2 separate regions of the Homo sapiens genome follow, and region 2 is linked to region 1. The links are contacts of gene promoters, found by promoter capture Hi-C in human tissues and cell types (Jung and others, 2019). All regions are on one chromosome and are shown on one strand. The core of a region is centred on a gene start or on the middle of the fragment in contact, and the rest is flanking DNA. Distances in the headings are between cores, read along the strand shown. Region 1 holds the start of AASS (aminoadipate-semialdehyde synthase). Region 2 overlaps AASS (aminoadipate-semialdehyde synthase).

The links. Contacts are between HindIII fragments. The study calls those that stand out against the background at their distance.
Region 2: a fragment that was not itself captured here is called in contact with the fragment with the promoter of AASS in region 1 in 1 of the 25 tissues and cell types used here (aorta).

The regions. Positions count from the first base shown.
Region 1 is chr7:122,139,731-122,146,959 of GRCh38, forward strand. AASS (aminoadipate-semialdehyde synthase) reads right to left here and starts at 4,519. Exons shown (of 24, transcript NM_005763.4): 1 at 4,431-4,519. It overlaps LOC102724527 (a long non-coding RNA gene), which reads left to right and starts at 4,684. Exons shown (of 6, transcript XR_007060500.1): 1 at 4,684-4,766. RefSeq lists enhancers at 3,343-3,848, 4,850-4,899 and a silencer at 4,150-4,349. The HindIII fragment of the contact is 13,093 bases long and covers 1-7,229 here.
Region 2 is chr7:122,102,721-122,109,949 of GRCh38, forward strand. All of the region lies in intron 11 of AASS (aminoadipate-semialdehyde synthase), which reads right to left. Among named protein-coding and RNA genes, the nearest start is that of AASS, 38 kb to the right of the region's middle. The HindIII fragment of the contact is 3,910 bases long and covers 2,654-6,563 here.

The DNA of each region.
Region 1 (7,229 bases), core at 3,269-5,768:
GCAGATCACCTGAGGAGTTCGAGACCAGCCTAGGCAACATGCAAAACCCCATCTCTACTAAAAATACAAAAATTAACTGGGCGTGGTGGCGCATGCTGGTAGTCCCAGCTACTCGGGAGGCTGAAGCATGAAAATCACTTGAGCCCAGGAGGCGAAGTTTGCAGTAAGTGAAGATCATGCCATTACACTCCCACCTGGACAACAAAGTGAGACTGTCTCAAACAAACAAACAAACAAACAAACAAACAAATGATGTATTTAATTTTTGCAGTTTTTATAAGGGAACGGGGTAGATGAAGAGAGCTGAGATTTTCATAGAGCTTTTTACTCTTCCATCAAATAGCTAAAATTCTTTAAGTCTCTTCAACCCTTTCCATAGCACCAACCCAATCAGAATACTTTTTAAGCTTATAGATCACCTACCTAAGCAAAACAATGCACAAGCATTACAAGAGCTTAAGAATGAACTAAGCGGCTGGGTGCGGTGGCTCACACCTGTAATCCCAGCACTTTGGGAGGCTGAGGCAGGCGGATCACGAGGTCAGGAGGTCGAGACCGTCCTGGCTGACACGGTGAAACCCCGTCTCTACTAAAAATACAAAAAATTAGCCAGGGTCGGTGGCGGGCGCCTGTAGTCCCAGCTACTCGGGAGACTGAGGCTGGAGAATGGCGTGGAACCCGGGAGGCGGAGCTTGCAGTGAGCCGAGTTCGTACCACTGCACTCCAGCCTGGGCGACAGAGCGAGACTCAGTCTCAAAAAAAAAAAAAAAAAAAAAAAGAATGAACTAAGCATTGCACCTCTTAATTTCTGTTACTTCTTTTGGGATATGTATGAAGGATCACACATTCATTTTTGAAGAAATTAAGGCCAAATGTTCCAACTTTAATCCCCACAGTTAGGAACGTGCTCTTTGTCCATCTATTTTAGATATTTAAAATAATTTCACTACAGCATAATTCAATGACTCAAACCAAAACTATCAAATCACACGGGGGATTTCTGAATGACAAATTATTTGCAATAATCAGGCATATATTGTGATTAAATATTGAGAGACTAAGAATGAGGTAATGTAGTCTTTAGATGAAGAAAATAAGTTCAAGGATGAACAGCGCTAATTATTTATATTCACCCTTCCAAGTAACTAAAAAAAAAAAAAAAATACAAGTATATATTAAAATCCATGGTTTCCCAAGAAGCACTGGTGTCTGTAAATAAGTATGGCAGCTCTATGGCTATGAGTCTTGGCCTACACTAAGTATCCAAACCATAATATTTTTTGGAGAGGTTCAAAAGAGTTCCAGAATTAACACAGCACCAGATGATGGCCTAGAACTAATCCAAATCCCTCCCAATTTCAAGGCTTGCTAGAACTAGGCTTGGGCTTGCATTAACACTGGTCATACTTTGACTTCCTGTGCGTGGGTACATTCTTTTAATGCTTCCATGTTAAACCCTCTATAAAATACTTTACTGGATTAAGAAGAAAGTGGTAGACTTTGGGGGAGGAGGTCTATTAGTGTTAACTAATCTGGTCTGAGAATTTTCATATTTTCTCCAGCCCATCACCTACTCAAAGTCATCCATAAACATGACACATATTTCTCCTGGTCTCTAGCTTATAATTTTAGCTTCATTGAAATGGAATACAAAGTTAGTTCTAAATCGGAGTCTAGTCCAAAATGCTTATCTGCTTACTTGTCTGTCTCTTTGCTAAACTGCAAATGTGTATGAGTTGTGTTTTACTCATCTCTGTATTCCCAATGACTGGCACATGGGAAAACAGCAAGTGTTTTAAGAAAGAATGAATAAATGAAAAAGCAAATTCAATAAACATTATAAAGACCTATGCAGCAAGAAAACAAACAAACAAACAAACAGATAAAATAGACACATTAATAAGAGACTCACATCCCCCTAACCCTGCAAAAAAAAAAAAAAAAAAAAAAAAAAACTTGATTCTCTTCCAAGATCTCATAGATCAACAAATGTCGTGAAATATAGTACAGTATAGTGGGAAAACTTAGACATGGGAGCTGGGACACATAACTAGATGTAGGGTTCCTCCTCTTGACTTCAGTTTCCTTACCCAGACAAAAATATAATACTAAAGTCCCTTTCAGGCTCTGATATTCTGATTCTATTAAGCATAGTAGTAACTGGACACTGAGAATTACAAAAACATTAGAAATGTAGAACATAAATAGGCACTCTGACTTATGAATTTCTAGCTAAAGTACACCAAACAGGGAAACAAAATACCAAAAACACAATCAAGAAAGAGTGGACATTCACCTAAGCTACCTGCATTAATAGCATGGACCAGGAACCAAGAGCTTGCAACAGAAGATGGATACCTCAAAGGAATACTGGTTTCTCTCCTGGGTTCCTCAGCGGCCAAACTTACTCTGTGACCTTGGCTGGCAACTTAACCTGTCTGTGCATCATGCGCAAAATGAGAATCATATTAACCTCTACCTCTTAGGGCTCTTAAGACGTTTAATTGAGCTAATATGCATAAAGTGCTGAGCATTGCTGTGTGTCATAAACAATAAATTTTAAGAAAAGAAAAAGCCTCCAGGCTTGCCTACTCCTCAAAAGCGAGCACAACCACGCCGCTAACAGTAGACTCACATTTCTTTCCTCTGTCACACTGTAGTAAGACCTTCACGATGGCTCCATATTAATCCCCCACCCTTACATTATTTTGGAAAAAAAATAATTAGAGCCCAATAAGCCCTCTCTTCAACTTCAAACTTCAGGCATGCATGTTCAAGATAAATAAATTACCATTTTAATGTTGTATTTCATCAAATTTAAGACAATTTTTTTACACATTTTAGCATCAGTGAAATAGGGATGCATCTTACAATAGATGACACCTTAGATCAGATGAATGTGGTAATAATGTTTTGGGGTTATTTTCCATTCCAAATGTTTGTTTCCATGATTTCATGAATTGCATAGAATCTTTTGTAGCCTTCCCAAGAAAACTTACCACTGTTTGTAATGTTATTTCTATGAGAAAATTAATAAAAGAATATATGAAAAAAATGAAAATGTTTTGTTAAATGGTGGCTTCTTAAACACCAAAGATCATTTCCAAAATTCCGAACCAAGGTCTGTTAAACGACTAGTGAGAAAAAAAATTCAATGACAAATAAACCAAAGTTCTGATCACGCCATCATCAATAACAAGTGAAACTGATAACAAATATGATTATCTGAAGAGTGGGAAAATGATTCAGGTAAATTGGCTTCAATTTTTGTCCACCTAACTCATTTTGCAGAATGGCCACCAGGTTACACAGTCAAGTCATGTAGCCCTAGATTCACTCATCTTCATGGGAAAAAAAGAAGAGGGGAGTGCAGGGGACAAAACAGACAAACCCAGAAACACCAAAGTGCCATCAGTGTTTTGGGATTTTTTTTAATACAGTATTGGAAAGCCGCAGCTTCAGTCAAGGACCATTCCGTCCTGTGTATAACTACATCTCACAGCTGCACCTTCCCCACTGATAACCCACAACATCAAAAAATGTTAATCCTTGTTCAAGTTACTGAACTAATTCATTCTCTCTCGCGCTCGAGCGCTCTTTCTCTCTCTCTCTTCCGCTCCCCCCACCCCCATTCCCCTGAAATCAATGTCTGAAAAGCACATTTCTTCTTCTGAAGCTGTCAGGATAGACAGACATTCAGCCCCATTCAACCGAGGAGGGTGGGTAAACTGCTTCTCCCCGCGCCCCGTCCCGCGCGAGCGCTCACAATGGGCTGCATAGTCCCGCAGGGGCTGAAGAGTTCAGGAAACCCAGACTTGCAAGGCGCCCAACTTCCACCCATCTCCGATCCTTGCTGGAGAATGGGTCTGTGTCTCGGAGAGTGGGCAGCCCAAGATGGACAAGGAGAGAAGTTTGTGATCAGTTTGGCTAAGCTGGGCGTGGGGAGGGAAGGGGGAAAGAACCACCCCGAAATCTCCATCCACCGCCCCCTCAGCCAGCCGTCCCCTCTAAGCACGCCGTCCACAAATTAACAAGCCGTTGTTTCCTCAGCTTCATCAGTTCTTTATTCCCCAGCCACAGCACCACCACTGTCCGCCAAAAAAGAAAGAAAAGAAATCCGAATTGCAATCCCTCGCCTTTCTACTTAGAAATGCTGGAGCTGCGCTGACCGCTCTCCCTCCCTTCCTCGCAGTGAAACTCTCTGCGTTTCCGCTCTCCCTCCATTCCTCGCAGGGAGGCCCGAATGCTCGCCGCCTTCTCCCTCTCTCGGCCCGGCCGGGGTCGCCTCGCGGCGCCGGGACCCGAAGGCCAGGCTCGCGGGCCCCTCCCAGCGACAGCCCGAGCCCGGCCCGCTATCTCCACCGCATCTCACAGGCTGAGCCCACCCGCGCGTCTGCTCAGCTCTCCGCGGGGACCTCTCCTCTCCTCACCTCGTCCGCTCTGGGGCGCCGACTTGTCCCCCGCCGCCTCGAATCTTCCGAGTCGCTGCAGGGGAGGCTCCGAATTCCTAGAAGAAACTGGGATGGAAGGCCGGGAAGTAGGAGGTGTTTGCTCAACTTCTGAGGACGTCACGCCTCTGCCTCCCGTAGCCAATCAGCAGCCGCCCTGAGGGAACAACCTTCTCATCTGCCAATCGGCGGCGCTGCCAGTTGCTACGTCATGCCCGGCCCCTGCTCCTCCCCAAGATCCTTCTGTCTCTGATCTCTGATCTCTGACCTGCGTTCTTAGCTGGGACGTCGAGTTCTCCCAGGATAATTATCGACCAGGTTTGTAACTGTCCGTGGCAGAAGGCGGGCGGGGACGGAAAGCAACGAAAATAGTCTGGGCATTACGCTCTAAATAGAGGTGCACATCTCCTGGGGAAAAGTTGCGAGCGCCGGTACCTCACGTTTGTTTAGCTATAGACACTTTTCAAAGCATTTCACCGCCTTGTCACAACCCTGTGAAGCCAGATAACAGTTCTTACAACAGTTTTAGAAGCCAGCAAGCGGAGAATCTGAGAAATTAAAACTGAGTGTGTTCATGTGCATATGGCAATGTCCAATGTTATTGAAAAGTCCTAACTACCTAGGAGGCCTGGAGGGAGGGGGAAAACGTATTTCATAGACACTAGCCCCAGCACTAGGAACTGAAGAATCGTCTGAAGCCCAGCTGTGATTCCCCAAGGCGTCAACGGTCAGAAGTTAATCTTCCCTCCTGTTTTTACAACTTTCTCCACCACTTACTCTTCTTATACCTGCCATAGATGTATTTAGCTACTGAACTCCTATGTCAACAATCTATAGCCAGAACGTTCTTGAGACTCCACTCATATCTCCAATTGCAGAGAAAATTATTTATTTATTTATTTGTGGTAGACATGGGGTCTCGCTGTGTTGACCAGGACACTGGTCTGGAACTCCTAGCCTCAAGCTATCCTCCCACCTCGTCCTCCCAAAGCACTGGGATTACAGGTGTTAGCCACTGTGCCCAACCCCAAATTAGAATTTTATCTGTAAGTAGAGTTGGAATTTTCTTCTGTATCTTCAGCTTCACATTTCCAAAATCGGATCCCTTATCATTCTTGGAAAGTCTTCCAAAGGCTGTGTAGTGGTTCACACCTGTAATCTCAGCACTTTGGGAGACTGAGGCTGGAGAATCACTTGAGCCCAGGAGTTTAAGACTAACCTGGGCAACGTAGCAAGACCTGTGTCTACTAAAAATAAAAATAATAAAAATAAATAAAATTTTAAAAAGCCAGGTGTAGTGGCACATACCTGTGGTCCCAACTACTTAGGAGGCTAAGGTGGAAGGATCACTTGAGCCGCAGGATGTTGAGGCTGCAGTGAGCCATGATCATGCCACTGCACTGTAGTCTGGGTGACAGAGTAAGACCCTGTCTCAAAAAATAAAATAAAATAAAGCCTTCCCTTTTGTGCTCACCAGCTCTGTTACTAATATCACTGCCTTCCTACTCACCACCTATCCAGACTTAAAAAGCCACGGTCACTTCAGTTCTTCCTCTGGCCCCTCAGCCTTACCCTTGGTGTTGACACTGTCCTTTAAAAACCCCACTACTATCACCCTACTTCAAACCCCTTTTTATATATAACGTAGACCATATTTTTTTAAGCATACAACTCCAATTGTCTCATTGGCCTAAGCAAAAAGCCTCAGAGACTACCCAGTACTTGTGGAACATTAGCCCAACGTTCTTCACATAATGTTAGTTGCTTCAGATGTGGCCAAAATCAATGACCTTGGCTTTATTTCTGCAGCAGAACCAGCCTGAAACCACCACTGAAACACAATTTATGCCTTGCTATCTTCCTAAGGATTAAGCATCTGGGTAAGAATGTAAGAATCCTTACTCTTCTCCTTTGAGTTGTAAATCATGGGCAAGTTACTTAGTTTTCAAAAAAAGCCTGTGCTCCATTATCTGTTAATGGGTTAATAATAGCCACTACTTCGTGGAGTCATGAGAACAAAATGAGATAATGGCCAAAGTGCCCTGTTAATTGTCTCACTGAAGAAACTGGAAATCATTATTTATTTTCCTCCAAATACCTCATGTTGTAGACTTATCTGTAATTCTAATTTACAAAAATATTCACCTTTCTAAAACTAACCAGCCCTTTGGGGTTCAGCTCAAATGCCACTTAAATAATGAAAACTTTCCTGAATATTTCAACCACATGTGATTGTTTCCCTTCTCCCTTGTGTATTGGCCTCTCTTATTGTACTTATCACATTCTTCCTTTTATCACAGTTATTCATACTTACCTTATCCACATTGCTCAGCTCACCTGTCATCACCACCATAAAATAAGAATATGTACGTGGACTTCCTCTTTTCTTTTCTTTTCTATTTATTTATTGCTTCTAGTACGATGCTATGCGTGTAATAAGTCAGTTGGGGTCTTAGCAGGAAATAGGTGGCACAATCCAACTGGGTAAATTAGGAGACACAAAAGGACTGAGTGTATGCAGGGATAAAGGAAAGTGGCAGTATATGTGCCATGTAGTCCCTGGGACTAGCAACACTGACAATCACTCGTAGGCCTAAACAGGGCCAGGGAAAGAAATAATTACCAGAACTCAGGAATAGTTCTACCTGTAGTGTAGCTGTAGCTGTAGCTGTAGAGAGTGCCATTCAACCAACAGTAGTGGTTTGTGACAGGAATAAAGCTGCCTAAAGATTAATCCTGCCGGCCGGGCACAGTGGCTCATGCCTGTAATCCCAGCACTTT
Region 2 (7,229 bases), core at 3,359-5,858, 37 kb before region 1:
CTCCTAACCTTTACCCTTGTCTATCTCACTGCCCAAAACAAAGAATATATTATCTGGAGGAAAATCACACAACATCCAGAGCCTCGAGTCATCTCTAAAATTTTGAATACGCAATGTCTGGCATTAAACCAAAAATAAATAAATATATTGAAAGGTAAGAATTTACTGAAAACCATAAAAACCAAGGAAAAAAACAGGGAACATAAATAGAACCAAGAAGTGTAATGGAATTAACAAAAATGATTCTAAATTGTGATTAATATGTTCAAAAAATAAAAGGACAATATAGATAACTTTTTTAAAAAATGTAAAACTTTAAAATTAGTGAATATAAGTTTTTGATAAATGAAAAATAACATGTTTCAAGCCTTGGAAGACAGATGAACATCCAAATATATGAAGCTCAACAATCTCCAAACAGAGTTAACCCAAAGAGGTCCCTTTATAATTACTGTCAAAAACCAAAGACAAATGATATTAAAAGCAGCAAGATAAAAATATCATGTTACATATAAGGGAATCTCCATTAGACTATCAGCAGATTTCTCAGTAGAAATCCTGCAGGCCAGGAGAGAATGGGATGATATATTCAAAGTGCTGATGCACAGAAACCTGCCAGCCAAAAATACTATACACAGCAAAGCTGTCCTTCAGAAAAAAAGAAGAAATAAACTCTTTCCCAGACAAGCAAAAGTTTAGGGAATTCTTCACCACTAGAGCTGCTCTATAAGAAATGCTTAAGGGAGTTTTTCAAGTAGAAAAAAAGAACATTACTAACATGAAAACATAAAAAGTAAAAAAATCCACTGATAAAGGTAGATATATATTCAAATCCAGAATACCCTGATACTACTATGGCACTCTGCAAAACATAGGTATATATAACTCTAGGATGGAAGTTAAAATTCAAAACAGTCAAAAATAATGATAGCTACAATAAAGTATTAAGAAATATGTAAGCTAAAAAGATGAAAATTGTGACATCAAAAAATATTAACTGGTTGCACCCAACTCAGAAAGGTAAAAAAGAAATATGAATATATGTACATATACATATATATGTGTGTATATATACTATATATACTATACACACACACACACGCTGGTGGGAGGGTAGAATTCTACAGTTTTTGTATGCAACTGAATTTAAGTTGTTATTAGTATAAAATAGTCTATTATAACTATAAGACATTTTATGTAAGCCTTGTGGTAACCACAAAGCAGAATACTAAAGCAGATATACAAATGATAAAGATAAAAGAATACAAATTTAGCACTAAAGGAAATCACTAAATCACAAAGATAAACAGGAGAGGAAAAAAAGAACAAATAAGCTATAAAGCAATCAGAAAACATTTAACAAAATGGCAGTAGTAAGTCCTTGGCATATCAATAATTACTCTGAATGTAAACAGATTAAATTGTTCAATTAAAACACAGAGTGGCTGAATGGATTAAAAAAACAAAGCTCTACTATTCACAATAGCAAAGTTATGGAACCAATCTAGATACCCATCAGTGGTGAATTGGATAAAGAAAATGTGGTATATATACACCATGGAATACTATGCAGCCATAAAAAAGAATGAAATTGGCCAGGCACAGTGGCTCACACCTGTAATCCCAGCACTTTGAGAGGCCAAGGTGAGCAGATCACCTGATGTCAGAAGTTCAAGACCACCCTGGCCAACATGGTGAAACCCTGTCTCTACTAAAAATACAAACATTAGCCAGGCTTGGTGGTGGGCACCTGTAATCCCATCTACTGGGGAAGCTGAGGCAGGAGAATTGCTTGAACCCAGGAGGCAGAGGTTTGTGAAATGAGATGGTGCCACTACACCAGCCTAGGTGACAGAGCAAGACTGCCTCAAAAATAAACAAACAATGAAACTACGTCCTTTGCAGCAATCTGGATGCAGATGAAGGCCATTATCCTAAGCAAATTAATGTAGGAACAGAAAACCAAATACCACATGTTCTCAGTTATAAGTGGGAGCTAAACACTGAGTACACATGGACACAAAGAAGGGAACAATAGAAACCAGGGTATACTTGAGGGTGGAGGATGGGAGGAGGGTGAAGACTGAAAAACTACCTATCAGGTACTATGCTCACTACTTTAGTGACGAATTCATTTGTGCTCCAAACCCCAGTGACATGCAATTTACTCATGTAATAAAACTGCACATGTACCCCCGAACCTAAAATAAAAGTTGCAAAGAGAAAAAAAAAATAAGCTCTCACTATATGCTGCACACAAGAGACACACTTTCACCTTAAGAATGCACATAGGCTTTCATCCCTCAAAGGGGATGAAAGAAGATATTCCTTGCAAATAATACCAACAGAGGACAGGGACAATACTTATTCTAGATAGAAAAAACTTAACACAAAAATTTTCACAAGAGACAAAGAAAGTCATTATTAAAGAGCTCAAGTCATTAAGAAGTCATAGCAATTGTAAATACATGTGCACTCAACATTGGAACACCTAAACATATAAAGCAAATATTAATTAATCAACATGAAGGTAAAAAATAGATACCAAAACAATAATAGTAGGAGACTTCAATACCCCTCTTTCAAAGATGGAAAGATCAACCAGAAAGAAATTAATAAGAAAATACTGGAATTGATCTGTGCTTTAGACAAAATGGACCTAATAGATAAATATAGAACTTTTTATCCAGTAGCACCAGTGTACGCATTCTTCTCTAGTACATATAGAATGCTCTCCAGAATAGACCATATGGTAGGCCACAAAATATGTCTTAACAAATTCAAAAAAATTGAAATCATATTAAGTATTGTTTCTGATCACAGTGGTATGAAGCTAGAAATCAATAACAAGAGAAACTTTGGAAACTACAAACACATGCAAATTAAACAACATAATCCTCATCAATCAAGGAGTCAATAGAGAAACTAAAAGGGAAATTTAAAAATTTCTAGAGACAAATGAAAATGAAAACACAACCTACCAAAACCTATGGGATACAGCAAAAGCAGTACTCAGAAGGAAGTTTATAGCAATTTTGAAATGCCTATTTCAAAAAAGAACAAAGATCTCAGATAACCCAATGTTGCACCTCAAGGACCAAGAAAAACAGGAACAAACTGAACCCAAAATTAGTAGACACAAAGAAATAATGATGGTTAGAGAAGACATAAACAAAATAGAGACTTAAAAAATATAAAAGATCAATGAAACAAAGAGTTTGTTTGAAAAGGTAAACAAAATCAACAAACCCTGTGTCTGCCTAAGGAGAAAAGACTCAAATGAATAAAATTTTAGATGACTGTTGTTGGTGTGTTGAAATGCTAGTGATTTTTGTATGTTGATTTTGTATCCTGAAACTTTGCTGAAATTGTTTATCAGCTTAATTTTTGGGCTAAGACTAGGGGGTTGTCTAGATATAGAATCATGTCATCTGCAAAAAGGGATAATTTGACTTCCTCTCTTCCTATTTGAATGCTTTTTATTTCTTTCTCTTGCCTGATTGTTCTGGCCAGGACTTCCAATACTATGTTGGATGCAAGTGGTAAAAGAGGGCATCCTTGTTGCCAGTTTTCAAGGGGAATCAATGTTATTAAAATGGCCATACTGCCCAAAGCAATTTATAGATTCAATGCTATTCTTATCAAATTACCCATGACATTCTTCATAGAACTAGAAAGAAACTATTTTAAAATTCATATGGAACCAAAAAGAAGCAGAATAGCCAAGGCAATCCTAAACAAAAAAAAACAGAGCTGGAGGTATCATGCTACCTGACTTCAAACTATATTACAGGGCTACAGTAACCAAAACAGCATAAGACTCGTACAAAACCAGACACAAAGACCAATAAAACAGAATAGAGAGCTCAAAAATAAGGCCACACATCTTCAACCATCTGATCTTCAACAAAGCTGACAAAAACAAACAATGAGGAAAGGACTCCCTGTTTAATAAATGGTGCTGGGATAACTGGCTAGCTATATGCAGAAGATTAAAACTGGATCACTTCCTTACAGCATATAAAATGGTGTAAATCAACTCAAAGTGGATTAAAGAATGAAATGTAAAACCCAAAATTATAAAAACCCTGGAAGATGATCTAGGCAAAACCATTCTGGACATGGGAACTAGCAAAGATTTCATGATGAAGACACCAAAAACAAATGCAACAAATGGGATCTAATTAAACTAAGGGGGTTTTGCACAGCAAAAGAAACTATGAACAGAGTAAACAATCTACAGAATGGGAGAAAATATTTGCAAACTATGCATCTGACAAAAGTCTAATATCTAGCTTCTATAAAAACTTAAATTTACAAGAAAAAACAAACAACCCCATTAAAAGCTGGGCAAAGGACATGAACAGACACTTTTCAATTGAAGACATACATGCAGTCAACAAGCATATGAAAACAAATTCAACATCACTGATAATTAAAGAAATGCAAATCAAAACCACAATGAGATACCGTCTCACACTAGTCAGAATGGATATTACTAAAAGGTCAAAACATAACAGATGCTGGTGAGGTTGTGGAGAAAAACGAATGCTTATACACTGTTGGTGGGAGTAAAAATCAGTTCAACCATTGTGGAAAGCAGTGTGGCAATTCCTCAAAGAGCTAAAAACAGAACTACTCTTCAACCCAGCAATCCATTACTGGGTAATATACCCAAAGGAATATAAAATGTTCTATCATAAGGACACATACACATGCACATGCTGTTGTAAAGAGTGCTCATTGGAGCGCTATTGTAAATAGCAGAGACATGGACTCAACCTAAATGCCTATAAATGATAGACTGTATAAAGAACATGTGGTACACCATGGAATACTATGAAGCCATAAAAAAGAATGAGATCATGTCTTTTGCAGGAACATGGATAGAGCTAGAAGCCATTATCCTTAGCAAATTAATGCAGGAACAGAAAACCAAATACTGCATGCTCTCCCTTATAAGCAGGAGCTAAATGATGAGGACACATAGACACATAGAGGGGAACAACACACACTGGGGCCTTCCTGAGGGAGAAGGGAGAGGAGCACAAAAAATGACTATTGGGTAGTAGGCTTAATACCCTGGTGATGAAATAATCTGCACATCCACCCCTCGTGACACAAGTTTACCTATAGAACAAACCTGCACATGTACCCCTGAACCTAAAAGTTTTTTTTAAGTATGTATTAGCTTCTGCAACATTATTGCATAACAAATCACCCACAACTCAAAAAAAAAAAAAAAAACACAGATGAAAAAGGAGACATTACAACTTATACCACAGAAATACAAAGGATCATAAGAGAGCATTATGAACAATGATATGCCAAAAACTTGGAAAACCTAGAAGAAATGAACAAATTCCTGGACACATACAACCTACCAAGATTGAACCAGAAAAAAATAAACAATCTGAATAGGCGAATCGATAACAAGCAGCAAGATTGAATCAGTAATAAAAAGTCTCCCATCAAAGACTAGCCCAGGGCCTGATGGTTTCACTACTGAACTCTACCAAACATTTAAAGAAGATTTAATACCAATTCTTCTCAAACTATTCCAGAATATCAAGGAGGAGGGAATTCTTCCAAACTAATTCTATAAGGCCAGTGTTATTGTGATACCAAAATCAGACAAGGACGTAACAAAAAAAGTAAACTTCAGGCCAATATCCCTGAAGAACATAGATACAAAAATTTTCAACAAAATACTAGAAAACCAAATTTAACAGCATATTTACAAGAGCATTCACCATAATAAATGGGATTCATTCCAGGGGTGCAAGAATGGTTCAACATATGCAAATTAATAAACATAATTTATCACATTGACAGAATGAAGGACAAAAACCATATGATTATTCCAACAGAAACAGAAAAAAATATTTGACAAATTCAACATCACCTTATGATAAAAACTTTCATCAAATTTGGCATACAGGGTACATACCTCAACATAATAAAAGCCATATTTGACAGACCCACAGCTAACATCATACTGATCATGGAAAATTGAAAGCTTTTTCTCTAAGATATGGAACAAGAAAAGGATGCTACTATTCAACATAGTACTGGATGTTCTAGTCAGTGTAACTAGGCAAAAAAAAAGAAAACAAAGGTACCCAAATTGGAAAGCAGGAAGTCAAATTGTCCTTGTTTGAAGATGACGAAATCTTATATATAGAAAACCCTAAAGACTCCATCAAAACACTGTTGGAACTGATAAATTTAGTAAAATTGCAGAATGCAAAATCAACATACAAAAATTAGTAGCATTTCTATATGCCAACTGTGAACAATCTGAAAAAAAATCCCATTTCCAATAGCCACAGCAAAAATAAGATGCATAAGAATAAATTTAACCAAGGAAATGAAAGATCTCTATACTAAAAACTGTAAAACATTGATGAAAGACATTGAAGAAAACAAAAACAAATGTAAAGATATTCCCATGTTCATGGAATGGAAGAATTTATATTGTTAAAATGCCCATACTACCCAAAGCAATCTACCAATTCAGGGCAATCCTTACCAAAAAAAAAAAAAAAATGATAATCTTCACAGAAATAGAAAAGACAATCCTAAAACTAGTATGAAATCACAAAAGACCCCAAATCGTCACACAATATTTAGCAAAAAGAACGAAGCTGGAGGCATCACACTACCTGACTTCAAAATATACTACAAAGCTATAGTAACCAAAACAGCATGGTACTGGCATAACAGCAGACACATAAACCAATGGAACAGAAAAGCAAGCCCAGAAAGAAATCCATGCATCTATATCCACCAGTTTTGGAGAAAAGTGTCAAGAACAAACATTAAGGGAAGAAGAGTCTCTTCAATAAATGGTGCTGGGAAAATTGGATATCTACATTCAGAAGAATAAAACTAGACCCCCTATTTCTCATCATATAAACAAATCAACTCAAAATGGATTAAACACTTAAATGGAAGACCTAAAACTATGAAACTACTAGAAGAAAAAAAAAACACAGGGGAAATGCTTCATTACATTGACCTGGTTAAGAATTTTTTGGATAAGAACTCAAAAGCACAAGCACAAAACCCAAAAACAGACAAATGGAATTACATCAAACTAAAAAGCTTCTGCACAGCAAAACAAACAAACAAAAGATCAATTGAGTGAAGAAACAACAGAATGGGAAAAAGTATTTGCAAACTATACGTCTCACAAGGAAGTAATACTCAGAATATACAAGAAAGTC